7 separate regions of the Homo sapiens genome follow, and regions 1, 3, 4, 5, 6 and 7 are each linked to region 2. Evidence: promoter capture Hi-C in 16 types of primary human blood cells and fetal thymus (Javierre and others, 2016). All regions are on one chromosome and are shown on one strand. Each heading gives the region's core, a stretch centred on a gene start or on the middle of the fragment in contact. The rest is flanking DNA. Distances are from core to core; before and after follow the strand shown. Region 1 has its middle 26 kb from the start of MIR4290. Region 2 holds the start of GADD45G (growth arrest and DNA damage inducible gamma). Region 3 overlaps MIR4290HG (MIR4290 host gene). Region 4 has its middle 68 kb from the start of MIR4290HG. Region 5 has its middle 26 kb from the start of MIR4290HG. Region 6 has its middle 5.6 kb from the start of MIR4290HG. Region 7 has its middle 48 kb from the start of MIR4290HG.

Region 1 (3,617 bases), core at 89-2,588, 390 kb after region 2:
TTGGGGTCTCCTCTTTCCCTCAGGCAGGGGCCGAAGGGCAGGCAGGGGGGTGTTGGGCCCAAGGGGGCCAGCTGGTGAGGACAGCCCCGCCTGCCCTGGTGGTCTCGCCTCTCCTCAGTGGGCTCATCACATTCACAGAGGTTCTTCGTGCCTCCCTCACTTTGTTGCCACAACAAGAAAGATTTCACTCCGTCTCTATTTTAAAGAGAGCTGGAGACATCAAGTGGCTGGCTGTGGTCACCCAGCCCCAACCCTGGGTCTCATTGGTGTAGGACCCCGTGTTTATCTTCCTGTCATTTCATCTTCCCCCTACTCCCGCCAACACCTTCTATTTAATCTTTCCCCCAGCTCTTCCTCCTTCTTGCACAACTGAGGTGCCTGTGAGGGGCTGGATGTGGGAGGTGGGTGACACCTCAAACAGTAATTTCCAGAAGCATTTTAGATGCAACCTCGGAGTCTTCAAAGGAGCACTGGGCAATTTTGCTTGGAGAGGGGGTGGAGGCGGGTAAAGGATCTCTGTATTTTCATCCCCTGGAACTGGCTGGAACTGGCTGGAACTGGCTGCCTGTTGGATGTCCCTGGAGGTGTGGCATCCTTTGCATGTCAACATCAGGATTTGGCTCTTGTCTCTGCCCCGGGCCTGACTCCCTGCTGCCAATGCCTGTGGTCTGGATGCACTTGCTGCGAATTGCCCAGGTGGCAGTGGTGGAGCAGAGTCTGCTGGGAGACACAGCAGGAAACATACAGCATCATGGGGTCCCAGGTGTGACGGCTGGGCATGGTGTATTTGTGAGAAGAGGCTCCAGACCTGGGGTCTGGGCTCTGGAGATGTGGGTGGGGCACAGGTGGCAGGAAAAGGATGGGTGAGCCCAGGTCCACCTGGCCTATGGAGGTCTTAACTTCCTAGACCTATCCAAACCTCTCTGTAGTGATAAATGCCATGGAAATGTTCTGGGGACTGCCGGGGAGTGGGATGGGAGGGTGGAGGGGGCTGTCTTCCACAGCCAAGAAGGAGACATAGTAGAGACCCTTGGATTCAGGCTTAAAGAATAACTAGGGGCATTGGCCTTCTTAGAGAGGACACAGGACTTTGTCTGACTTTGCACTTGTCTGGTGTCATTGCAAGTGGCAATTCTCAATTCTCAGTTCTCCAGTTATCCGGCGCCACCTGGGTGTCCAACAAGTTCATGCCATGAACACTGGAGGTGAAGGGCTCTGTCCTATGACTCTGCCCCACAGCAGACACCAGCCACAAGGCCCAAGGGTCATCCGGCTGTGAAATCAGGGGCTCCTATGACCTTCTCCCAGGCTTAATCCCTTGCTAGAATGAGTCACAGAATGCAGGGCAGCACTCTACTTACAATTATGGTTTTGTTATGAAAGATAAACTCAGGAGTGGCCAAATGCAAGAGAAGCATAGGAGAAGGTATTGGGGAAACAAGTGTGGAGTTTCCCTGTCCTCTCAGTGCACAGCTCCCCACTTCATGTGGATGCTTCTACCACCCTGGAAGCTCCCCAAACCCCTTTGTTTGGGGATTTTGTGGAGGTTCCATGATGTAGGTGTGATTGATACATCATTAGCCATTAGTGACTGACTCAGTCTCCAGCTGCTCCCCCCCTCTCTGGGTTGGGGATGAAGTGGCATCATGGTTGGTCTTTTTGGCCACTAGCCGCCATCCTGAAACTGTCTAGAGTTCAGCCACCCACCATCTCATTAGCACACAGAAAACAGCAAACTCCCAGGGTTCCAGGAGCTGTGTGCCAGTCTGGGATGAAAAGAGATCAGGAGGTAGATGGATGAACAGGGGCATTTTCCTGATCTATCCCCAGCACCAGGCAGAGCCCCCTTGTTGTCCTCAAAAAACAGGCTGTGAAGGCAGAGGCAAGGCTCCTCGTGGGGTTCCAGGTGTGGAGGTGCTGCAGACCACCTGCAATTCCAAGGGGGCAGATGCTGCCAGGGACATAGATCGCCCAAGAAAACCTTGGGCTACTGTTGCCTGACTGAAGGACCCTGGGTGTGAGCAGGGCTCTGCTCAGAGGGCCTTGAGCCCTCTCAGGCCATCCCTGACCACATTGCAGCCTCCACTAGCCCCGCATCAGGTTCTGGCCCTGCCCAGAGCCACCTCCCTGTGGTGGGGATGAGACATCCCAACTTCTCTCAGACCTGGGAGGCCACCCAAGGTCTCAGGTTGGGAAGGCCGCCTTAAAAGATGCTTGGCTTCCAGTTCTTAATCTTAGAGGATTTGGGGGAGGAACCAACAGTGTATTGTGTGTAGTGTGGTGTGTGTGTGTTGTGTGGTGCATGCATATAAGTGTGGCATGTAAGTATATGTGTGCTTGGTATATGCATATGGATGGATGTATATTGTGTTTATGTATGGGACACCTGGTTTGTAATATTTGTCATTGTCTGTGGTATAAATCCTCCCATGACAGCCAATGGAAAGCTAATGCCATGTCACCAAAAACAGAGTTGGAAAGGGTGTGCAGAGCCACTACCTTAAGTACGATGACGTACATATATCACCAGACAGATAAACAGACACGCAGCCTAGAGAACACTGATAATAACACAATGTGGGGGTTATTATCTTGAATTTTAATATAATTTATTTTATTGCAAATCTATTCATTTTAATTTTTAATAATGGCTGTGTGTAACAACTGGTCCCGAAATTCACAGACATTTGGCAATCGACCCCATCAAGGGGGTACGGGTTGGCCTAGACCACCCTGGATTCCTTCTCCGGCTGCGTTCTGTGGCCAATGTACTGAGCCCTGCCGGCCTCCTTCCTCAAGAAGCTGGAAATCTGGTAGGAGCTGGAGATGGTTTCACTGGGGTCCCCAGGCTCACCACCCATGGGGCTGCAGAGGGAGTGGTGGAGATACACATGGAGGCCTCCTGGCTCTGGGAGTAGCTTCACACTCATACTCGGGGAATTGTTCTAATGGCTCAGGCTTGAGGCACCACATGCAGTTTTTTTTTTTAAAGTATGGTATTAATTTATACTTGTCTGTTGTTTATCCAATAAATGGCGTTCCAAATAGCAGGGCACTAGCCTGAACGGGAGAGGAGTGTGGATTCTGTTCTAAGCATGTTACAGCATCTGCTTTCATACTCATGCATATGCACACATGCATATATGTATATCCATGTCTACCTCAGGCGTGGGCACTTGCTGACTTATCAGGCATAGCCAAAGATAAAAGGCAACACTATGCTCCATGGAGGATGAATCTCACTTGGGTAATAAAATGACAAAGAAAACTAGAGAACTAATGGCCATAAGACTCAGCCCAGCTGTGCCCCAGGAGGGAGGAGAGATTTGGGAGTGGGGTTCTGTAGGGGGGTGGGAAGGCTCTAGAGTGGGTGCTGGGGGTTACAAGCATTTTTGCCTTATAGGACTTCATTAAACTTCATGTTTGCTTTATGCAGCTTCCTGTACTTGTGGGACATTTACTGTTAAATATATACTTTCATATATATGTGCAGATATACCTCAATATATATGTATATATATGTCTGTATGTGTGTGTTGTATGTACACACACATACACAGAGACATTACAGACATGTACTCACTCTCTTTCACCTGAGTTGGCAGAAAGTTTTGTTG
Region 2 (3,786 bases), core at 263-2,762:
GTGCCAGCGTGTATGGTCAAACGGCAGCAACCTCTAGCCTATTAAACTCTCCCAAGATCTCTTCCAGACTTATTCCATTGCCGGAAAAAAGGCTTTTTACATATGCGCATTTAAGTAATTAAGATATTTCAACATGGTATAAGACGTAGGGGCTCTTACTCCATCAGTACTGGATGGGAATTTCCTTTTGCCCTCTACTCCCCAGGGTAACTGCAGTCCCACCTGAATGCGTTTTGCAGCCCTTACTCGGGTTCTATTTATGCGCAGCTTGGACAGGGCTCACTGGGCCCGGCCGGGCAGCTCCGTGGCCGTCCCTCTCCACCGCCCTTCCCCCGCGCCAGGCCAATGCAAGGGTGTGTGTGTTGGGGGGAGGGGAGGACAAAAGGGGTTCAGGATCTTTTTAACCTGCCTGCAGATGGCGCCCCGGGAAAGATTCCGAGCTGCATTACCTAAGCTCCAGGGGCTGCAGCCGCGGGGTCCCGGCCACAGGGCGTCCAGCCGCGAAGACTGCACAGCAGCTCTCCGTCCTTCCCAACTCGCGCGGCTGTTCGGCACCCGTGCGAGGAACGGATGGAAGGGAATTACTTGTAGCAGGGCCAGTACTGGGGGCGTGCACTCAGGGACCACGGAGTGGCACTCAGCCTCGACCCCACGCGCCAGGCAGCCCGGCGACCCCCACGCGCGGCGGGGTCCTGCCCACCCCACCCGGCGGCAGGTGGACAGTGTTGCTATGAAGAGAAAGCCTCGATTGTCCCTACAGCAAACCGCCACACGCCAGACCTCTGCTATTGTGCGCCCTCCATAGAAATGCAAACGAGCGGCGTGCGCCGGCCGCAATCTGCTCGTCCCCGCCCGCCCCCGTCTCCCGCGCCCCGCCGCGCTCGGCCAAGGGCGGGGAGGTGGGGTGGGATCTTCCAGAGACGGCTCAATGTACACATTGAGTATGCCTGGCAGGCATCACCAGCGCGCTCGGGACGCTAGTGGTCAGCTGCAGGGGGCTGTGCCCACTGCCTTTTGCAAGCCTCTAACTGGCGCTACCTGTTTTTACCTTAATTTCTGGCTCCAATGCAACAGTCTCATAGACTTCAAATTAAAGAAAAGAAACAAATAGAAAGGTAGCAATACAAAATGCAAAAAAAAATCCCTTTGCTTCTATAAAGGTGCTTTTCGCAAATTGCAGCATCATATAAGCAAACAAGGTTTTTGTGGGTTGGGTTTTTTCTTTTTTTTTTTTTTTTACTTTTTCCTTTTAAGGACTTCAAAAAAAAAAAAAAGCCAGGCGAGATGAAATCTGCAGGCTCCAGTCTGCCTGGTAACACCCCAACAAAAGCGGCAGATTTGAGGCATTGTCATCCCCCGCACCCCTCCCCACGTGGCCTTCTGGCACGAGCCGCTGGCTCGCCGCCTCATTTACATCAGAAAGCGGGTGCCGGCCAATAGGCGCGCAGCCTCGCGCCAGCTGGCGGCGCCGCACCCACCAGCCTATATAAGGGCGCGCAGCGTAGTAGGGGCGCACTCGCTGGTGGTGGGCGCGCCGTGCTGAGCTCTGGCTGTCAGTGTGTTCGCCCGCGTCCCCTCCGCGCTCTCCGCTTGTGGATAACTAGCTGCTGGTTGATCGCACTATGACTCTGGAAGAAGTCCGCGGCCAGGACACAGTTCCGGAAAGCACAGCCAGGTGGGTTTCAGGGCGCTGAGAAAGCCGCTGGTCGGTCGGCGACCGTCAGGGTTTTCCAGGGTGGGAATCCGCGGGGTAGGAGGGGAGCGCGGGGGTCCGGGCGCCAGATCCCGGTTGGAGAGCCGGGGTGCAGGCGCTGAGCCGGGATTGGAGTGTGGTTGGAGTTGGGGAGCCAAGGGTGTGTGCCGGTGGCCGGGGCTGGGGTCTCCGCCGCGCCCTCCGGCCGGCTCCCGCTCACTGCGCTGGCTCCTCCGCAGGATGCAGGGTGCCGGGAAAGCGCTGCATGAGTTGCTGCTGTCGGCGCAGCGTCAGGGCTGCCTCACTGCCGGCGTCTACGAGTCAGCCAAAGTCTTGAACGTGTAAGTGTAGACGCGGCCCAGGCTGGGAGACAGGGGCGGGGGTGAATGGCGAGGAGACTGGCGGATGGGAGGGGTGGCGGCGGGAGAACTCGGCTAGCCGGTTCTGACCTAGGTCCCCGCCTTGCCCTCGCAGGGACCCCGACAATGTGACCTTCTGTGTGCTGGCTGCGGGTGAGGAGGACGAGGGCGACATCGCGCTGCAGATCCATTTTACGCTGATCCAGGCTTTCTGCTGCGAGAACGACATCGACATAGTGCGCGTGGGCGATGTGCAGCGGCTGGCGGCTATCGTGGGCGCCGGCGAGGAGGCGGGTGCGCCGGGCGACCTGCACTGCATCCTCATTTCGGTGAGTACAGTCCCGTCCTGTCCCCGCCCCAGTGTCGTTCCCGCCTCGGCCCGCGGCCAGCCAGGCTGACCCTGCTCTCTCTCCGCAGAACCCCAACGAGGACGCCTGGAAGGATCCCGCCTTGGAGAAGCTCAGCCTGTTTTGCGAGGAGAGCCGCAGCGTTAACGACTGGGTGCCCAGCATCACCCTCCCCGAGTGACAGCCCGGCGGGGACCTTGGTCTGATCGACGTGGTGACGCCCCGGGGCGCCTAGAGCGCGGCTGGCTCTGTGGAGGGGCCCTCCGAGGGTGCCCGAGTGCGGCGTGGAGACTGGCAGGCGGGGGGGGCGCCTGGAGAGCGAGGAGGCGCGGCCTCCCGAGGAGGGGCCCGGTGGCGGCAGGGCCAGGCTGGTCCGAGCTGAGGACTCTGCAAGTGTCTGGAGCGGCTGCTCGCCCAGGAAGGCCTAGGCTAGGACGTTGGCCTCAGGGCCAGGAAGGACAGACTGGCCGGGCAGGCGTGACTCAGCAGCCTGCGCTCGGCAGGAAGGAGCGGCGCCCTGGACTTGGTACAGTTGCAGGAGCGTGAAGGACTTAGCCGACTGCGCTGCTTTTTCAAAACGGATCCGGGCAATGCTTCGTTTTCTAAAGGATGCTGCTGTTGAAGCTTTGAATTTTACAATAAACTTTTTGAAACAAACTTATGCTCTTTATTGAGGGTAGGGGATCTTTGTGTCGGGGGAGGTGGCGTGCAGGGTTTCAGAGGATTGCTGGAACTCCGTGGAACTGATGGCACCTGTTCCGTCTTCCTGTCGGGCAAGAATGACAGGCTCCTCCCCTCTGGCAGAGGGAGGGCATGCTGCCCAGTGCTAGGGTAGAACTTGAGCCTGGCTCCTACTTTTCTCCTTTTAGGAAGATTTTAAACTTGCAAAACAGGAGCATACTTGAGATAAGACAGTGCAGCAGCTGAAGTCTTGCCTTCCAAGGCGATAACAGTGACCTGTGCCTCCCCTCCCCCTCCTCGGCCCTCCTCCCCCTCCCTCCTACAGCTGCTTATCTGAACAGCTTGCAGGAGGCCTCAGGCTTTCCTGCACAATGAGCATTGCCTTCTGCAGGCCCTGCCCTTTGTGGTCCCTGAGGATGGTGGCAGACTGCTCCTGCTCTTGGGGACTTTTTCCTCTTAAATGCTCTGACACAAAGCAATGCTACAAAGGTACTAATACCAAATATGACATTGATGACTGCATTTAAGTATGAGTCATTACTTTGTCATGGCTGTGATAGAACTTGGAAGATCTGAGAAAAAATTGGAAGGCAGCATCTATATAAATAGGCATGAGCAATTCTGAGGGGGCCTGGCATCTGCTATCTACTATTTTCAGTGTTCTCTGCCCACATCAGAGTTACGAGGATTGCTGCTATTCACAATT
Region 3 (3,512 bases), core at 514-3,013, 420 kb after region 2:
AGGCTCTCATGGGCTTCCTGAGGAGGGGCTGCCAGATCCAATTCTCAAAGGCTGACAAGGACACAGATGGGCAAACAGCATCAGGTGCTCCAAGTCTAAGGACCAGCAAGCCCAGCGACCTGGCCCAGAGCACGGCAGGTGTGAAACACGGTGGCTCTCCGTGAGGAGCTCAGGGTGCAGCGTGGTGTGGGGGAAGTGGGGCTGCAGATGCAAGCAGAAGCCGTGTCAGGAGGGACTTTGCTCTTCCACTAGGAAGTCTGGCCTTGGCTGTGAAGGCACTGGGCGTTGCAGAAGGACTGAGAGGAGAGGGCCATGCCCAGCACCGTGTTCATGCACACATTTAGAGAAACTGGGCTTTTTCAGGAAATTTGGATGGAGGCTTTTGTGGCAACCCTGACCTGATGGAAGATAAAGATGTCAATATACACATGGTCCTGATGGGAGATATTTTGGAGATAGAATTGGTGGGCCTATTTACCAAGTAGCCCAAAGGGTGGGAGGGGGACTCTGCCATTGTTTGGGATCTTTGGTGATTTCTTTTTAAGGAGCTGATGGCTCAGGCAGAATGGTTCTAAGGGCCTTGAACACAGGCCTCTCCCACACGTCTTCCTTAATAGACTCCCGACTCCAGACAGGAGTCCAACATTAATACTTCATATCTGGGTGACCAAACCCTGCTGGCTCACACCTAGGAGAGGAGCAAGTGGAGGAAGCAGAGCCTTCTGGGAGGAGTGGGAGGAAGGCTTGCAAGGGGATGAGGCTGCTGCACCCAAGAGGAACCAAGCCTGGGTGCAGTGGGGTCTTGCACCCTCCTCCCAGTGTTCCACAGGATGGGTGTCTATGCCCAGGAGAAATGCACAGGAAGGGAGACACCTAGAGACACTCCCGTGGTCCAGACACATGGTGAACCCAAGCCCAGAAGACAGTCCAGGCTGACAACAGTAAGGCAGGGGCTGAACAAAACCCATCAGGGAGCAAGCTAAGGTGGTTGGCTCCTCCTGACGAATATTCAGAAGTGCTTCCTTTGCTCTTTTGAGTAACTAAAATTCAGCCAAATTGCATAGGAGAGAAGCCTCCTCCTGCCTAGGCTCCTCCTGGGCTGTTCAGGACAGCTGCAGCCAAGTTCAGACTTAGAGCTGTGAGTAAGCAAGAGGAAGCAAGGCAGGCAGCTCTACCGCTGGCAGGTCTGAGGCATCCCAGACAGCTCCGTGCAGCAAATTCTTCTGCAGTGACTGTTTGGCATCATCTGGGTGGAAACAAAACAAAACAGGTGAACAAAGAAACAGGAGCTGTAGCTTGCCAGTTTATAGGTATTTTTAATTGCCTCTTAGCTTTCTTGGTGCAGACATAGCATCCCTTTCTTTAAGTTTTGGGGGCTCACTAACCTTACAAGATGGTGGCATGAAAGTTCCTAGCACAGAGACAGGTCCACACAGATACTAAATAAAATAACTCAGTGAAAATTGTCCAAATCAGAGAAATGATTTGAAGGCATCTTATTTGTCAGGCTCTGTATCTATATTATTTCAACATCTCAAGTTCAGCTGTAGAGACAACTATATTATTTTGATTTAGTTGACAAGGAAACAGAGGCTCTGAGCATGTAGGTAACTTGTCCCTACTGTGACAGGCTGGGGTTCAGACCCAGAGCTAACTCCAAAATTTACACTTTTAAAAGGGAAATGTGGGTGGGAAGAATAGGATCTGTGGTCTGTTGATATTTCTTCTAGTGAGAACCTACCAGTGCCTTTTCCTCAAGGTATCAGGTAGATCAACCTGGAACATTCTATTTTGCTTCCTGTAACCCTCCAATGGTGTAGGGGAGTTGAGGTGAGGAAGGGGTGGGGTGGTAAAGGTGAAAGTCAATTTCAATCTTTTAGTTATAAAAGTCCATGGGTAGATTCCAATGCCTTCCTTCACCAGCCTATTTCTGCAAATTCTCCAGTGTGTCCATCCACCCTTAACTGTGTTCATAAATCATATCTCACAAACTTCATCATCCCTTAACTTTGTTGTAGCACCTGGTCACAATTTTCTTCTTACTAAATGATATATCATGATTCAGCAACCATGCAGAGGACAACTCAATTCTATGTCAACCTTGTAGGCATAAAAATGAAGCAAACAAGCCTTCAAGAAGGCCACTTGCAGGCATGTATACTGACCTCAGGCCTCTCTTGGCCCAATGTTTGTGAACAGAAGTCAGAAGGTGGCAGTTGGGGGATACAGAATTTACTTTGTAGTTTGCAAAAGAAACAAGCAATCTTTGAGATCCAGGCCCTTCTATGTCCTGCAAATCACAACTGATGTTTCATCTGCATTTGCACAAAAGATTCTTTTGCCCCCTGGGGTGCCATATTTTCATCACATACCGCAGTGCTGAAAATGCTGCTTTGGTTTGTGTGAAAGAAGGGATGGAAGACTTTAGTGAGTTTTTAAAGTATTCCTTTTAGAATTAAATGAATACTGTGGAACAAGGACATGTTACTGAATCACACCGATCAAGTCTGTGGTCCAACCTTTGAGCCCTACAAGGGGCAGCCAGGACACCAGCCTCATATGTAACCTAGTGGGGTTGCCATAGCAGAACACCATAGACTGGGTGGCTTAAACAATAAACATTTATTTCTCACAGTCCTGAAGGCTTGAAGTCAAGATCAGGGTACCAGTATGGTCAAGGTCTTGGTAAGGGCCCTCTTTCTCATTCACAGATAGTCATCTTTTAGTCATCTCACAGTGGAGAGCAGAGGGAGAAAAGACAAGCTCTCTCAAGTCAGTTCTTGTAAAGACACTAATCTCACCATGAGGGTTTCACTCTGTGACCTATTTACCTCTCAAAGACCCCATCACCAAATGCTTTCACATTGGGGATTAGGGTTTCAATATATGGATTTTGGAGGGATACAAATATGTCCTTGTCATATAGTAATTGACACAGTGTGGTATCAGTGAAAGAATAGACAAGCATCTCAACAGAACAGTGTACAGAGCCCAATAGATTCACATAAATATAGTCAACTGAACTTTGACTAAGACAAAGGCAATACAATGGAGAAATGTCTTTTTAACAAATGGGGCTGAAACAACTGGACACCCTCATGCCAAAAAAAAAAAAAAGTTCTAGATACAGATCTTGTACTCTTCACAAAATTAACTAAAGTAGGCAATAGACTTGAGTCTAAAATGTAAAACAAAACTCCCGGAAGATAACATAGGAGAATACCTAGATGACCTTGGGTATGGTGATGACTTTTTAGATACAACAGCTAAGGCTCAGTCCATGAAAGAAATAATTGATAACTGGATTTCAGTAAAATAAAACATTTTTGTGCAGCAAAAGACAACATCAAGAGAATGAGAAGCCAAACAACTAGATTAAAAAATGAGTGAAAGACTTTAATAGAAATCTTACTAAAGAGGAGGTACAGCTGGAAAGTAAGCATGTGAAAAGATGCCCCACATCATTGTCATTAGGGAACTGCAAATTGAAACAATGAGATACCACCACACAC
Region 4 (3,691 bases), core at 247-2,746, 500 kb after region 2:
CTCTGTTTCTCTTGAAGTAAGAATAACTTCATTCTCAACCAACATGACAAAGATTTCCGTGATAGCACTGGCTAGTCTGATACACCATACTTATTTTTTCCAGTTAACATGTTATTTTTTTTCCAGTTAACATGAACATCTCTATACTCAGCCAAGGAGCTGTAATAACAGAGTTCCATTTGACAACAGAGCTGTCAGTGTGAATACCTTTTGCTTTCTTCTTTTCTCATTTCAGACTCTGGGACTTTGTACACAGCCAGGATTTCAGTTACCATGGGATATTTCCAAATTTAATCTCCAGCCAAAGTGTGGATATTTATGCATATTTCATAATTCAGATAGCTTACTAGACATAACCATTTGGTTTTAACACAGATACCTACGTCCAAAACTTAATTTTTTTTTTATTTCTTTAAACTTGCTTCTTTCTCCATAGTCTCTAGTTTGGTTAGAAACAGCACTACCTAATTAAGCAAGACTTTTAGTAATCATCCTTTCTTCCTCTTCCTCCTTGTCGTTCTCATTTCCACGTGCCCACTAGTTGCACTCTTCCATGCAGACACCTCCTAAACCCTTTGGCATTGGTTTCCCTGCCTCTCTTTCCTAGGCCTGCCATTCCACTAGAGGCTACGCTCTCTCTCACTGGACAATTACAACAACCTACTGCAGTGACTCAGCCCTTGGAACATGGACTCTGGGTTGGTTGGTTTGTGTATAAAAAACCCACTCCCAGGAGAGTCTTTGCTTGTCCTTCTTCCAACTGATCTTCTACTCAGGAAAACTGTTATGTGTATATGACTACTTTGCTGATTTTTATTGTTGTTATTGATGATGACCCGTTTTTGCTCAGGCAGGAAGTCCATCTAGGGAAGCCACTGTCTTTGTGAAAACTTCACACTGCAGCATATGGGACCAGGATCCTGGACACAGCAAATGTCAGCCCCAACCCCCATGTCCCCCAGATCTGTATTTCCAGCATAAACACAGGCTGGTTGGAGGAAACAGGCTGCATTTAGACACATCAAAGGAACTTGAATGCCAGAAAGAAAATAGAGTCCTATGGCTATTAGAGAGGGAAGACATCCAAGAAAATTGTCATCAGAGACTGTATCCAGTTGAGCAAACTCGTCTTTCAACTTAGTAAGGGTAATTACTATGCAAGTGTGTGTACTTACCAAGAATAAAATCTCCAGGGACACAGAGGAGACATTCCGGGTCTTTTGCCCTGGCCCCCTATGGCTGTTTGCACTGTGTCTTCTGTGTTAAAATGTACCTGAAATTTGTCTTCAGCAGGTGTGGTAGGGCAAACAACACAGAAATGACTGATATGGAGGAAGAAGTTTTTGCTCATAGTTCCCTAGAAACAGGAAGCACTCTATGCTGGGCCACATGGGGAGGCACAAGGCTTGGCCAGGAGGCAGAGAGGATAGAGGGAAAAACATGGGAAAGTGCTTTTATTGTGGTTTTCAAAGGAAGAAATGGGCAAGGCAGAGTAAGCAGCCTAGAATTTTCTAGTTTAATTCCCATGAACTCTGAGCATAAGGGATGTCTCTAGTTGTCTGCTGCTGGCCCTGGGATGACTAGGGCAGAGGAACATTGCCTCCTGTAGTATAACAGTCAGACAGAGGAGGTGGTATGGAACATGGGCTCTGGGTTCATTGGTTTGTGTATAAAAAGCCCATTCCCAGGAGAGTCTGCTGTCTGTGAGAACTGGCTGGCCCTGGGAGCAGCAGTCTCTCCCCAGTCATGAGCCCCTATCTTAGTCCATTTTGTGTTGCTATAACAGAATACCACACACAGGGGAATTTATAAAGAATAGAATTTCACTTAGCTAATAATTCTGGTGGCTGGGAAGTCCAAGATCGGGCAGCTGCATCTGCTGAGGGCCTTCTTGCTGCATTATCCCATGGTATCCCATGGTGGAAGGGTGGATGGGCAACTGAGCACTTGCAAAAGAGAACCAGGCCAGACTCACTTGATAACAACCACTCTTGACTAACCACTCCAAAGATTAACCATTCATGAGGGCAGAGCCCTCATGACCCAATCACCTCTGATTAGGCCCCATCTCCCAACACTGTTGCATTGTGAATTAAATTTCCAACACATGAGCTTTTGGGGAACACATTCAAACCATAGCAGTTCCCACCTGTCGAAGTATGATAAAGAAGGAAATAAACAACAGCATTTCCAGGTTTATCTTGGGCTGCTCTGACCAACCCCAGAGAATGATCTGTGAACACACTTGCTTTGTTTGCATCTCAGTGGCTCATGTTTTGTAGCAGAATCTGCTCTTGCCCTGCCGAAATTTTTCAGGCATTATTATTTAGAATGCTCCAGTGACTTCTGACTGCCAGTATCTGTGTATTTGGGCCTTTAGGAATTCTCCAAAGCCAAGTCAAAACTACACTGCCCTTCTAATGAAAGGCCAGGTATGACCATCGCCAATGGGCTGCAGTATATGACTGTATAAATACCCCAGCTCCCTCTCCTCTAGGTGTGTGCTCTTCACCATTTCCCAGTTTCCCTGTGAAATTAGGTTCCAAATGCTCACTTTGCTTGCTAACTTTATGCTGTATGTTTTCTCCAGTTGCCCTTCTTTTCTTCAACATTTTCTCATTTACCTCCCTGTGTTCCCTACAGTCCCATATAAACTACTTGCACATCCTTGTACTGGGATCTGCTTCTAGGGGAGTACAAACTCAATCATGCCCTCCTTTCCCTCTGCCTAGAATGTTGCTCCTTTCTTCTTGACCTGAAGAACTGCTAGAGAGCTTTCAAACTGTATCCAAAAGTGTGACATCTTCAGGAAGTCTTATCTGTTACTTGATGCTGGCTTTCCCACTCCTTTGTCTGTATTCTCACAGCATTTTCTGTATACCATCACTTAATATGTTGTGATTTATTAAATACATTTTTCTCCTTTCTAGGACTGGAAGTTCCATGAAGGACAGCGATTGTCTAATTCTTTTCCTTTGCACCCAAAAGAGCCTGGCACATGGTAAGTGATGTATAAATTCTGGGCAAATGACAGAATCTCTAAAATCAAATATACATTTTTTTACACTTTTCGGAGATTCACTTCTGTCTTAAAATCTGCAATAATTTGCCTCTCTCTGCACCTTACTCTGATTATTTTTATTATAAAAAGATATAAGTTTGGGCACCAAGAGACAAAAATCACCATTATATATTTTTAAATATTGTCTCTTTATTGCTCGCAAACATTGCCAGATGATATGCAAATATTGCCTGATTTTTGGTTACAACCCCTGCCAAAAGGTGAGGATTTTCAATTGTCCAATGGCCCCAGGCCCTTGATCTGGCTGTCTTTACTACTTTGGGGATATGCTATGGCTTGAATGCATGTATCACTCCAAAATTCATATGTTGGAACTTAATTCCCAAGGTGACAATATTAATAGGTGGGGCCCTTGGAGGTGATAAGACCCTGAGGGCTCCACCCCTGTGGATGGGATTAGTGCCCTTATAAAACGGCTTGAGAGAGAGTATTTGTCCCTTTTCTTGATCTGTCCTTCCACCAGGGAAGGACACAGCAACTAGACACCATCTTGAAGTAATATCCCTCAGCAGATATCAAACTGCCAGCATCTTGATCTTGGACTTCCCAGCCTCCAGAACTGAGAAATCAATCTATTGTTTATAAATCATCCCATCTAATGTGTTTTTG
Region 5 (3,924 bases), core at 1,423-3,922, 460 kb after region 2:
AAGGGAAGGATGGTGTTCTTCAGCTCCACTCCTCAAATTCCCAGAGCCTCTCAGTTGTACCTACTGGGCATTCCAAGAAACTTGTGTTTGAAGCAATTGTTTTGTTTCTTTATTTTATTTATTTATTTATTTTGAGACAGGGTCTCACTCCCCTTGCCCAAGCTACAGTGCAAGGGCTTGATCATGGCTCACTACAGCCTCGACTTCCGTGGGCTCAGGTGATTCTCCCACCTAGGCCTCACAAGTAGCTGGGACTACAGGTGCGCGCCACCATTCCAGGCTGTTTTTTTGTATTTTCTAGTAGAGATGGGTTTTTGCGAAGTTGTCCAGGCTGGTCTTGAACTCTTGGGCTCAAGTGATCCACCTGCCTAGGCCTCTCAAAGTTCTGGGATTACAGATGTGAGCCACCAGGCCTGGCCTGTTCTGTTTCTTTAAAAAAAAAAAATTGAAAATCACTGATCTAGCAGATGGAAGGGTGTATTTCATAAATGCTGCTTTCTCTGCTCAAGACACCTGGTCCTTCTGATGAGCAAAGCTCTATTCTTCACCCTTCAGTTCACTTCATCCTGGGAAGCTTCTTTGCTGCTGAAGTCAGGGACCCGCATCCCTCCTGGGCTGTCACAGTGCTGAGCATTCTTTTCTCATGGCCCTTATCTCATGCATCATAATTATCGTTTGTGTGTCTTTCTCACTAGACTATAAACTTTGTGATGGGCTGTGATGATGGATGTTATATCTTCTAAAAGGCCTGGCACCAAATAGGTGATCAGTCACTCATTATTTAACTAACTTGATGAATAGATACAATGCAATGCATTATTTTGTTAGCTATTACATTAGTGCAAAAGTAATTGCAGGTTTAATGGCAAAATCCGCAATTACTTTTGCACCAACCTATTAATTATTAAAGCACAGGAGGGAAATCTTTCATAAAAACCAGGGTTGTCCAGAAGTCAAAAGTAAGTGGACACTATTAGATTATAGAATTATTTTTTTTCTGGTCTGCTGTGGAAGGCAAGGTCAGGGTTAGTGCATGAAAGATTCAAGAAGGGCAGTGCAGTGCAATCTATGCAAAAACCTTCCTCATTTTACAGTGTCATAAAATGGACAGCGGTGATTCTGGCAGCTTTGGAGTTTATATACACTATTTTTCTGTAAAAATACAAAGTGACATGTAATATATTTACAAACCCTTAGTTGGTGAATTGAAGAAAGGAAATCTCTGGATTCTGCAGGCAAGTGTTGAATTCAGGAGAATATCTTTGTGTTCCTCCAGAACCAGAACTGAGAGCAGATTCAATGCATGTAGTTTATTTGGGTCATGATCCTGGGATTGAAATATATAAACAGAATAAGTTTAGAGCAACTCTGAGAATAGAATTGGGGTCATGGTAGGCTTTTCCACCTTTTGTTCCTACAGCCAGTATTTACTCCCAGACTAAAGGCAGAAATGCCTGCTTAGGAGAGAAGCTAGGGCTCCTAAAACAATAGAGGCCCTGAGATACGGCCCAGTTTTGTATCTGATGCTTGAGTAGGCCTGCCAATTTCCCTTATCATTATTTATACCCTTAAAGAAGTCACCAGGTGATGTATCTTACCTGTAGTCAGACCTTGCAAGAAGCCCTCAGACCCTGGAGAAGGACCAAAAAATGAGAGTAATGGTAGAAGAAAACCTTGTGAACTCTCTGAATAAATCATCCATATGATTTATTTATAAACTCATACTCCAAGAAAAAGAATCAAAGGAAAATGAAAGAAAAGAACAGGGTCTAGGAGGGAGTGAATAGAATTGATCCCAGAAGAAACAAGGATAATCGGACGGGCATGGTGGTTCATGCCTGTAATCCCGGCACTTTGGGAGGCCGAGGCAGGTGAATCACCTGAGGTCAGGAGTTCAAGACTACCTGGCCAACATGGTGAAATCCCGTTTCTACTAAAAATAAAAAATTAGCCGGGCGTGGTGGTACATGCCTGTAATCCCAGCTACTCTGGAGGCTGAGACAGGAGAATCACTTGAACCTGGGAGGCGGAAGTGGCAATGAGCCAAAATTGTGCTATTGTACTCCAGACTGGGCAACAAGAGTGAAACTTTGTCTCAAGAAAAAAAAAAAAAAAAAGAAAAGAAAAGAAAAAAAAGAAAAGAAAAGAAACAAAGACAATCCAGAGAACTAAGAGGTACTTTCAAACCTCTATTCAGAGTTAGAAGAGAAGAAATTACATTCGCAATTTAAGAACAGACTATTGTTCGGAAGGTATAAAATCAGAACATAGAATCAGTTCATGGGATTAAAAATATTGTACCTAAAGAAAACAGTTCAATAGAACTAATTTATAAAGTAAGAAATGTCTCAGTACAAAGAGATGAGAAACATGACAGAGAAAACTAGAGACAGAGAAAACTAGAGACAGAGAACAGAGATTGCTCATTCAGAAATGCTATCTTCTATTAGGAGTCTACAAAAGTAAAAGAGAGAGAAAAAAGGGGGAGTTTATTATATGTTTTAAACAATGATAGAAAAAAGGAATATATACATATTCAACTAGATCTTCATTTAGGCACATCCTAAGGCAATTTCAGAAAACTAAGAATAAAACAAAGACACTAAAACATTCTAAAAGCAACATGCATGTTACCTGCAATGGAAGAAGAAAAAGACTAGTAGAAAAGTTTCCATCAGTAACACTAGTTTTTAAAAGATGATGGAACAGTGCTTGAATGTTCTTAGGAAAATGATTTGGAACTTAAAATTTATTCCCAGTCAAACTATAGATCAAATGTAATTGAAAAAAATTTTAAAATACACTTTTAGACATTCGGGGAAGGATTAGAAAGTTTACTTTTCATCTATGTACTTTTCTGAAGGTGCAGAAAAATATTTTCTAAGATCTCTTGAAAATACACTGTTGCAAAAACAAACAAAAGGAGTGCAACCAAGGAGAATACAACGCCTCTAATAAACAGGGGTCATAACCTAAGGGCTCCTGAAAAGCAACCCCAGGAGGCTAGCTGGCACTCAGATCTGGAGAGAAGACAGCAAAAGGAGAATTTTTTTTTCTCCCGGTGGTCACAAATTAGATAATTTCCTCAATATGATAATACTTATGCAAAGATTCTGCGCCCACAAAAGAAAACAAATAAACTTAATGGATATGTACACACAGAATATGTATAAAATTGTGCCTGGAAAGTACGCTACCATCTTGATAGGTGTTACTTTGGGGAAATGGCGTAGGAGGTGAGAGAATAAGGGAAGGTTAGGAGGTTAGAAAAGATGTTTTTGCAATATTTTCATTTCTTTTACAAAAAGATACTATCAGAACGTCCAGCAACATAATCTTGGCTGTGGTATAGACTGTTTAATAGCTTTGTGGAGATATAATTGGCAAACAATAACCTGCATGTATTTAAAGTGTATACCTCAAAAAGTTCTGACATTTGTGTACACCTGTGAAACCATCACCACAATCCAAGTGAAGAACATGCCAATCTTCCCTAAAGTCTCCTTATGCTTACTCTTACTCCCTCCGGCCCAACCCTCCTCCCCACCCCAGGCAGACACTAAGATACTTTCTGTCACTATACATTAGTTTACATTTCCTAGAATTTTACATAAATGGAATTACACCAGATGCATGCTTGTTGTTCCAGTGTAATTATGAAGAGCATCCCTTTCCTGTTTGGACAATAAACTGTACTATAATCAACCTACTACCAGGCAAGTAGCTAGTTGAAGCCTGTTCTTGAGTCCTGGTTGCCTTTTTCCAAGGAGAGACCACGCTGACTCTTGCTTTTCCTGTCTTTCCACTTGATGCTTTTACTCCCTTGTAGATACTCTGGTTTCTGTCTGGTAAGAGTAGTGACTTGGGCTGGTCTAACTTGAACAAAAGGACCAGCATGGAGTGCTTTGAACATTTTGACGGATT
Region 6 (3,431 bases), core at 182-2,681, 440 kb after region 2:
GGAATTTCATGTCAATTTCTCATCGTCCCTTTATTTGTGATAATGGGAGTATTTCAGTGGAAATAAAGGATTCACCTAAGAAGCTTTTTAGGATGATTTAAGACCTAACACAATGATATTAGTGATGTATTGCCACATAACAAATCTTAGTGGTTTGAAACAACAAACGTTTATAGTATCTCAGTTTCCGAGTGTCAGGAATCCAGGTGTGGCTTCACTGGGTGGTTTGGGTCAGGGTCTCAGAGTAGCAGTCTGCATGTTTGTGGGTCTGCGTCCATCTTGAGATTTGAGGAACAGGTCAGATCTGCTGCCAAGCTCACTCACCTGGGTAGGAGCAGGATGCCATTCTTTGCAGATGTTGGATGGAGGGTCTCAGATCTTCATGGTCTGTCGGCTGGAGCTGTGTGTCCCTTGGCAAGGTGTGTCTGTACTGTGAGTGCAGCTCACACTGTGGCAGCTGACTTTCTGCAGTTATGAGCATAAGACAAGAGAGGATGAGCAAGCCAGAATGCAGTCTTTCTGTAACCTCATCATAGATGTGACATCCCATCACTTTTGCCATATGGTCTCTGTTAGAAGCAAGTCACTGGGTCCCACCCTCACTCAAGAAGAAGGTATCACAAAGGGTGTGAATACCAAATGTACTGGGGTCCTTCTAGACGCTTTCTACTACAATTATAAGAAGAAATGCACTAGCCCCAAATCATTGGAAACAGGGTCACAGGGAGATAGAGCAAGTTGGAAAGTGCCTTGGGACTTGGCTTCCCTCTTTTCTGACAAGAATCGTCTTCATGAATGTGACATCACCTCTTTGATAGGTGGAAGGAGGCAGGGAGCAGGGGCAGATCAAGGCTCATGTCAGCATGGTCCTACTGAGGCAGCCCTGTCCTTTCTGCAGGCAGCAGCAATCAGATGCAGGTCTTCATCTCCAACAGGAGCTGGAATCCTGGTTTCTGATGTTGGCCCAGAGCACTTCTGGAGAAATGTGTGAGGGAGACAAGTGGAGAAGGGATGTCCACAGCCCACCATACTTAGGGTGGTGTGCCCGAGTGAGGTGCCCGTGCTCTCATGTTCTGTAACCTGGTGGGCACAGCCAGGGGCAGTGGCTGCCTGCACATGATGCTTTATGAAGAAGCAGCAGCTGTGGAATGCTCCCTGTGGGCCATGCACGCTACAGGGGCTCTGCGTGCATCACTTCACTTCACCCCCACAGGAGCACGATAGAGAGGTTACTGTCCTACCTCCAGTTTTAAATCTGGGGAAACTGAGATTGTGAGATCGAGCCATCTGCTGCAGCACATGGGGCCCGTGGGTGGCCAAACCCAGATTTCCATACTGGTCTTGATGACTAATTACTTCTAAGTTATTCTTTTTCAAAGTTCTTTTAGCTATACTAGCTGTTTGGTTTTTTTTTTTTTTGCCTTTCCACACATTTTAGAATAATGTCCAAATCTACAAAAGTCTTACTGAGATTATGAAAGAAATTGTTTAAACCTATAGATCAATTTGAGAAGAATTGACATCCTCACTCTCTTATGTCTTTGAATCCATGATTAAATCTATTATTTAAATCTATGATGGTATTTCTATTTACTTTTATAGATCTTTGAGTTCTTTTATCAGCCTTCTGTGGTACAAATTCTGTTTATACTTTGTTAGATTTATACCTTAGTATTTCATTTCTTTTAGCTATTGTAAATGGTATTATATTTTAATTTCTGTGACTACATGTTCTCTTCTAGAGTACAGAAAAACAGCTGAGTTTTGTATGTTTCTCTTTTAACCTGAAATATTGCTGAGTCCACTTGTTAGTTCTAGGTGTGCTTTTTTCTTTCTTTCTTTCTTTTTTTTTTTTTTTTTTTTTTTTTTTGAGACAGAGTCTCACTCTGTTGCCCAGGCTGGAGTGCAATGACGCCATCTCAGCTCAAGCGATTCTCCTGCCTCAGCCTCCTGAGTAGCTGGGATTACAGGCGTGCACCACCATGCCTGGCTAATTTTTTGTATTTTTAGTAGAGACAGGGTTTCACCGTGTTAGCCAGGATGGTCTCAATCTGCTGACCTCGTGATCTGCCCACCTCAGCCTCCCAAAGTGCTGGGATTACAGGTGTGAGCCACCACGCCCAGACTTCTAGGTGTGCTTTTGTAGATTCTCTAGGATTTTGTGAGTAGACAATCAAGCCAACTACAAGTAGGGACAGTTTTATTTCTTTCATTGCATTCTGTTTTTTATTTACTTTTTCTTTTTTTTTTTTTTTGCCTTAATGAACTGGTTAAAACTTCTGGCACTGTATTCACTAAGAATGATGAGAACAGACATCCCTGCCAGGCTCCAAATCTTAGGGGGAAGCATTCACACCATGCAGTATAAAGTGAGCTGTGGTTTTACCAATGCTTTTTGTGAAGTTGAGGAAGTTTCTCCCTTATTACTATTATTACTATTTTCTAAAAGTTTTCTTTATTGTTTCTCCCTTATTACTATTATTACTATTTTCTAAAAGTTTTCTTTTTTGTTTCTCCCTCTCTCTTTTTTTAAATGAATCAGTGTTGCATTTTGCCAAATGCTTTTTTCTACATCAGTTGATGTCATCAGGTGATTTTTCTTCTTTAGCTTGTAAATGTGGTCAGTTACACACAGACAGTTCCTGACTTGCAATAGTATGACTTAAAATTTTTCAATGTTTTGACTCTACAATAGTACAAAACCATCTAACCATTCTGTTTTTCATTTTCAGTATGGTATTCAGTAAATTATGTGAGACATTTTATACTTTACTATAAAATAAGCTTTGTGTTTGATGATTTTTCCCAACTGTAGGCTAATGGAAATATTCTGAGCACAATTCAGGTAGGCGAGGCTAAGCTATGAGGTTTGGTAGGTTGGGCATATTAACTGCATTGTTGACTTAACGATATTTTCAACTAATGAGTGGGTTTATTGGGCCATAACTTCATGGTAAGCTGAAAAGTATCTGTAATTGATTTTTGAATATTGAACTCGCTTTGAATTTCAGGAACAAAATCCACTTGGTTGTGATGTACGATTATTTTGATGTATTGCTAAATTCTATTTGTTATTTTGTTAAAATTTTTTGCATCTATAATTATGGCAAATATTAATCTGTAGTTTTCCTTTTGGTATACTTTTGGTCTAGTTTTGTATCAGTATAATGCTGGATTCATAAAATTCATTGGGAAGTGTTTCCATTCTTTCTATTTTGGGGAAGAGACTATGTATAATCGGTGTTAATTCTTGAAATATTTGGCAGAATTCTTCAGTAAAACCATCTGGACTCAAAGGTTTCTTTTATGAGGGAGTTTTAACATTACTAATTCAATTTCCTAAAGAGTGTTCAAATTCTCTATTTCATATTCTGTGAACTCCAGTGGTTTGTGTTTTTCAAAGAATTGGTCCATTTCATCAAAGTTGTCAA
Region 7 (3,650 bases), core at 487-2,986, 480 kb after region 2:
CGGCTCCCTGCAACCTCTGCCTCCTGGGTTCAAGCGATTCTCATGCCTCAGCCTCCCAAGTAGCTGGGATTACAGGTATGTGCCACCACACCCAGCTTATTTTTTGTCTTTTTTAGCAGACACGGGGTTTCACCGTGTTAGCCAGGATGATCTCGATCTCCTGACCTCGTGATCTGCCCACTTCGGCCTCCTGGAGTGTTGGGATTACAGGGGTGAGCCACCGCACCCAGCTTACCAATGAATCTTTTTCCAGGTCATCAGAGCTGTCTCTTCCCTCCCCCAACCCTGACTGCCCTCCTCTGCCCCTGTAGTCTTCTACAAGGTTATGTCTACATGAAATTCATGTAGATGAAACTGATGGTCAAACTTAAAGCAATGCTTATGTCAAGATGGCAGCAGTCCTCTCCTGCAGTTTGGTTTTTATCTTGATGAGTGAGGGCGTCTCTCTACTAGCCAGCAGGGTGCATCTGCTCCTTGCTGTGGATGGATTACTTTGCCCGAGATGTAGAGATGAAATCAGAAGGAAAAAAACGTGAAGACACCAAGACTAAACTGAAAACCCCAACAGCAGTTTCAGGAGTCCACAACCATCCCGTTTTGATCTGTAATCAGCTCAAGTTGACAGGTGCCTCCAGTTGGACCTGATTCTTTTCCAGCCAAGAAAATGTCTACAGATTGCATTTGTGCTGTTGGAACTCACTGCTGTGGAAGGGGCCGTGGTCCAGCCCTGATTCAGCTTTGTGGTGGAAAGAAACCTGTCCCTCCGCCTTCATTTTCTCTCACCCATCACCAGAGGCACAGTTGTCAGCCTTTGCCACAGAGCCACACAAAAGGGGTCAGGCCGGCCTGGTCTCACAGAGGAGCATCTGGAACCAGCCTTTGGGCTTTCTCATGCGGAAGTCTGGCCTCATGCAGGCAATTATTTTTTATTACTTGTCAAAATCTCCGTAAGGCCAGTGGTTCCTTCTCTTTTTATGTAGCTTTTTTGTTTTGAAATAATTTCAAATTTACAAAAGGGTTACAAGATAGTGCTGAGAATTTCTGGTCCTTCCCAAGCTCCCTCTAATGTCAACATCTCACAAAACCACGGTGCACTCATCATTGATACAACACAATTCACTAAACTACAGACTATTCAGATTTCACCAGCTTTTTGCTCTGGCCTTTTCCTCTTCCGGAGTCCCATCCAGAATATTACACCACATTTAGTAGTCATGTCTCTTTAGTCACTTGGAATTGGTGACAGTTCCTCAGGGTTTTTTGTGACCTTGATACTTTTGAATAATACTCATCAAGTATTTTGCAGACTTTCCCTCATACTGGGGTTGTCTGTTGTTTTCTCGTGGTGCCACAGAAGTCGTGAATCTTGAGGGAGAATTCCATAGGGGGGCTGTGTCTGTCTGCCTTTTATCATCATACATGAAGGGGTGAATGATATCAACCACCTGTGATGTTAATGTCATGTTCACCCCTTCACTTGTTTGCCTGTTCACCCGCATCACTTGGTTAAGGTGGTGTCAGCCACTGAAAAGTCACTATTCTCCACTGAAAAGTCACTATTTTTCCCTTACCATGCTTTGTTCCTTAGGGGAGGGCAACTAAGTTTCAGTTCCAGAAAAGAAGAATGCTAAAGTATTTGGGGAGATATTTTTAAACTACCACAGTAATTAGGAAATATTTGGGGGTAAATACTCTGAGATTGTGGAAATATCAAGCATTCATCAGTGGGTCTTCCCTGCTGCAATTATGGCTGTGGGATTCTCGTGGTGATTTCCATTTCTCTCAATCCTCTTGCATTTATTAATTGGAATTATTCAATAGGAAAAATGTGTTTCTTCTCTCCCATCTTACTTATGTAGTCATTTATTTATATCAACATGAACTCATGGCTATTTATTTTATTCTTTGGGTTACAATCAAATACAATAATCATTTCTTTTTCTTGCTAAAATTGTTGCAGCTATGACCATTGGTAGCTCCTTCAGGTTTGTTCCTTTTGAAATACTCCTATGACCACCTCCAACCTCCAATTGTTTTAAATCACTTGCTCACTTTCTGGCACAATAAGATGCTCCAAGCTCACCTTCTATTTTCCCTTCCCCAGCCCTAGCATCAGACATTGTCTGTGGAGTCCTGGTTCTTTTTATTGGAGAATGATTTTAGACACCAAATTCTAGGTGCTGGTGTGTGCTTATTGCTACTAGGATGTCACAGTTTCTAAGTCCTCTCAGCAGGCAGAAATAGAAAAAAAAAAAGTGTATGTATATTAACCCATGTGTAAACATACATATGTATTTATTTCTGTATATTCATTTGTAGACACATTAAAATAAACAGAATTCATATTAATATCTCCAACTGCAAACCAGAAGAATAGAGTTTATCCTAGCATTTCTTCCCCTCTTGCTTACTTGTAACTTCTTTCTCTGTGGGTAAGAATCCTGGGTCTCATGATCTATAATTTATTTACTCACCTGTTTAATTCTAGTACACAGGTAAAGTTGTTTCAGAATCGCTAATCTCTACTCCTGTGAGAAACAAATGTATTCACTAGAGTACAGTCCTATGTAATTAACTCTACATAAACCCTGTAGAGTACTGGTTTTATGTAATTAAAACCTCTTGTCTTTAGCCTTACAGTATCCAGTCAAAATTTCCCCTTTAAAAATAATAACCTCCAAATAACTGCCTCATTCTACCACCTTATCTTCCCATTCCTAATTCCCTTTAACTTGCTCAATGTTTTTCATTAAAGTTACCACCTTTTAGTGTACTGTGTAAACTTGCATAGATATTAAACTCTGTCTGTCTCCCTGACGAGGATGCAGGCAGGGGTCTTTGTGGGAGCATCATGGTCCTCAACACACATTCATTAAATCAAGTGACCATAGGTAACTGAGGGTGAATATCCATGTAAATTCAGAAGTGGACCCCCAAAGAAGACCTTAATACTTCCACAAGTAATCCAGAGATCTGGTCGGAATTCCTCTGTTTTACCTATTTGCAGCATATCAGCTTCTTCAAGGCAAGCCTCCTCAACTCCACTGCAGCCCCATGGAAACCCGCTGACCTCTCATAGCCGTGAAATCACCTGAGGCACGAGCTCCCCATCTAGGCTGTACATTGGAGCCTGGTACCTGGGATCTGTTTCCAGGAATCAAATTAATCAGGGGTAGGGACTAAACATTAGGTTTTCAAAAATTGTGGTAAAATACACATAACATAAAATTTGCCATTTTAACTATTTTTAAGTGTACAGTTCAGTGACATTAAGTGCATTCACATTGTTGTGAAACTGTCACCACAATCCGAGTCTGGAACAATTTTTATCTTGCGAAACTAAACTCTATACCCATTGGAAACTCCGTACCCATTAAATAACAAATCCTGATCCTCCTCTCCCACTAGACTCTGGCAACCTCCATTATACTTTGTCTCTATAAATTTGATTACTCTAGGTATCTCATATGAGTAAAATCATATAATATTTGTCTCTTCGTGACTGGTTTATTTCATTTAACATAATGTCCTCAAGGATCATCCATGTTGTAGGATGTGTCAGAATTTCCTTCCTTTTTAAGGTTGAATAACATTTCATCGTATAGACAGACCACATTTTGTTTATCCATTCATTGATCTATGGACACCTG

Evidence for each region. Contacts are between HindIII fragments. The CHiCAGO score rates a contact against its expected background, and 5 or more counts as called.
Region 1: a contact is called between a fragment that was not itself captured here and the fragment with the promoter of GADD45G in region 2, in 17 of 17 cell types (M2 macrophages, M0 macrophages, M1 macrophages and 14 more). The highest score is 48.5, in M2 macrophages.
Region 3: a fragment that was not itself captured here is called in contact with the fragment with the promoter of GADD45G in region 2 in 11 of 17 cell types (M1 macrophages, M2 macrophages, naive B cells and 8 more); the score reaches 12.0 in M1 macrophages.
Region 4: a contact is called between a fragment that was not itself captured here and the fragment with the promoter of GADD45G in region 2, in 17 of 17 cell types (non-activated CD4 T cells, M0 macrophages, total CD8 T cells and 14 more). The highest score is 58.5, in non-activated CD4 T cells.
Region 5: a contact is called between a fragment that was not itself captured here and the fragment with the promoter of GADD45G in region 2, in 16 of 17 cell types (M0 macrophages, M1 macrophages, M2 macrophages and 13 more). The highest score is 18.7, in M0 macrophages.
Region 6: a contact is called between a fragment that was not itself captured here and the fragment with the promoter of GADD45G in region 2, in 14 of 17 cell types (M1 macrophages, M0 macrophages, M2 macrophages and 11 more). The highest score is 14.4, in M1 macrophages.
Region 7: a contact is called between a fragment that was not itself captured here and the fragment with the promoter of GADD45G in region 2, in 17 of 17 cell types (M0 macrophages, M1 macrophages, M2 macrophages and 14 more). The highest score is 52.6, in M0 macrophages.

Annotation. Positions count from the first base shown.
Region 1 is chr9:89,995,696-89,999,312 of GRCh38, forward strand. No RefSeq gene overlaps it. Among named protein-coding and RNA genes, the nearest start is that of MIR4290, 26 kb to the right of the region's middle. The HindIII fragment of the contact is 5,680 bases long and covers 1-3,617 here.
Region 2 is chr9:89,603,500-89,607,285 of GRCh38, forward strand. GADD45G (growth arrest and DNA damage inducible gamma) reads left to right here and starts at 1,513. Exons shown (of 4, transcript NM_006705.4): 1 at 1,513-1,675; 2 at 1,933-2,034; 3 at 2,168-2,381; 4 at 2,470-3,056. The coding sequence starts at 1,623. The coding sequence ends at 2,580. It overlaps LOC105376139 (a long non-coding RNA gene), which reads right to left and starts at 1,517. Exons shown (of 2, transcript XR_930105.3): 1 at 1-1,517. RefSeq lists an enhancer at 324-1,222 and a silencer at 833-882. The HindIII fragment of the contact is 4,421 bases long and covers 1-3,021 here.
Region 3 is chr9:90,024,854-90,028,365 of GRCh38, forward strand. MIR4290HG (MIR4290 host gene) reads right to left here. Exons shown (of 4, transcript NR_038882.1): 3 at 1-1,246. Among named protein-coding and RNA genes, the nearest start is that of MIR4290, 3.1 kb to the left of the region's middle. RefSeq lists an enhancer at 34-83. The HindIII fragment of the contact is 8,601 bases long and covers 1-3,512 here.
Region 4 is chr9:90,107,398-90,111,088 of GRCh38, forward strand. No RefSeq gene overlaps it. Among named protein-coding and RNA genes, the nearest start is that of MIR4290HG, 68 kb to the left of the region's middle. The HindIII fragment of the contact is 6,474 bases long and covers 1-3,691 here.
Region 5 is chr9:90,065,442-90,069,365 of GRCh38, forward strand. No RefSeq gene overlaps it. Among named protein-coding and RNA genes, the nearest start is that of MIR4290HG, 26 kb to the left of the region's middle. The HindIII fragment of the contact is 4,200 bases long and covers 573-3,924 here.
Region 6 is chr9:90,045,382-90,048,812 of GRCh38, forward strand. No RefSeq gene overlaps it. Among named protein-coding and RNA genes, the nearest start is that of MIR4290HG, 5.6 kb to the left of the region's middle. The HindIII fragment of the contact is 2,701 bases long and covers 82-2,782 here.
Region 7 is chr9:90,087,880-90,091,529 of GRCh38, forward strand. No RefSeq gene overlaps it. Among named protein-coding and RNA genes, the nearest start is that of MIR4290HG, 48 kb to the left of the region's middle. The HindIII fragment of the contact is 6,772 bases long and covers 1-3,650 here.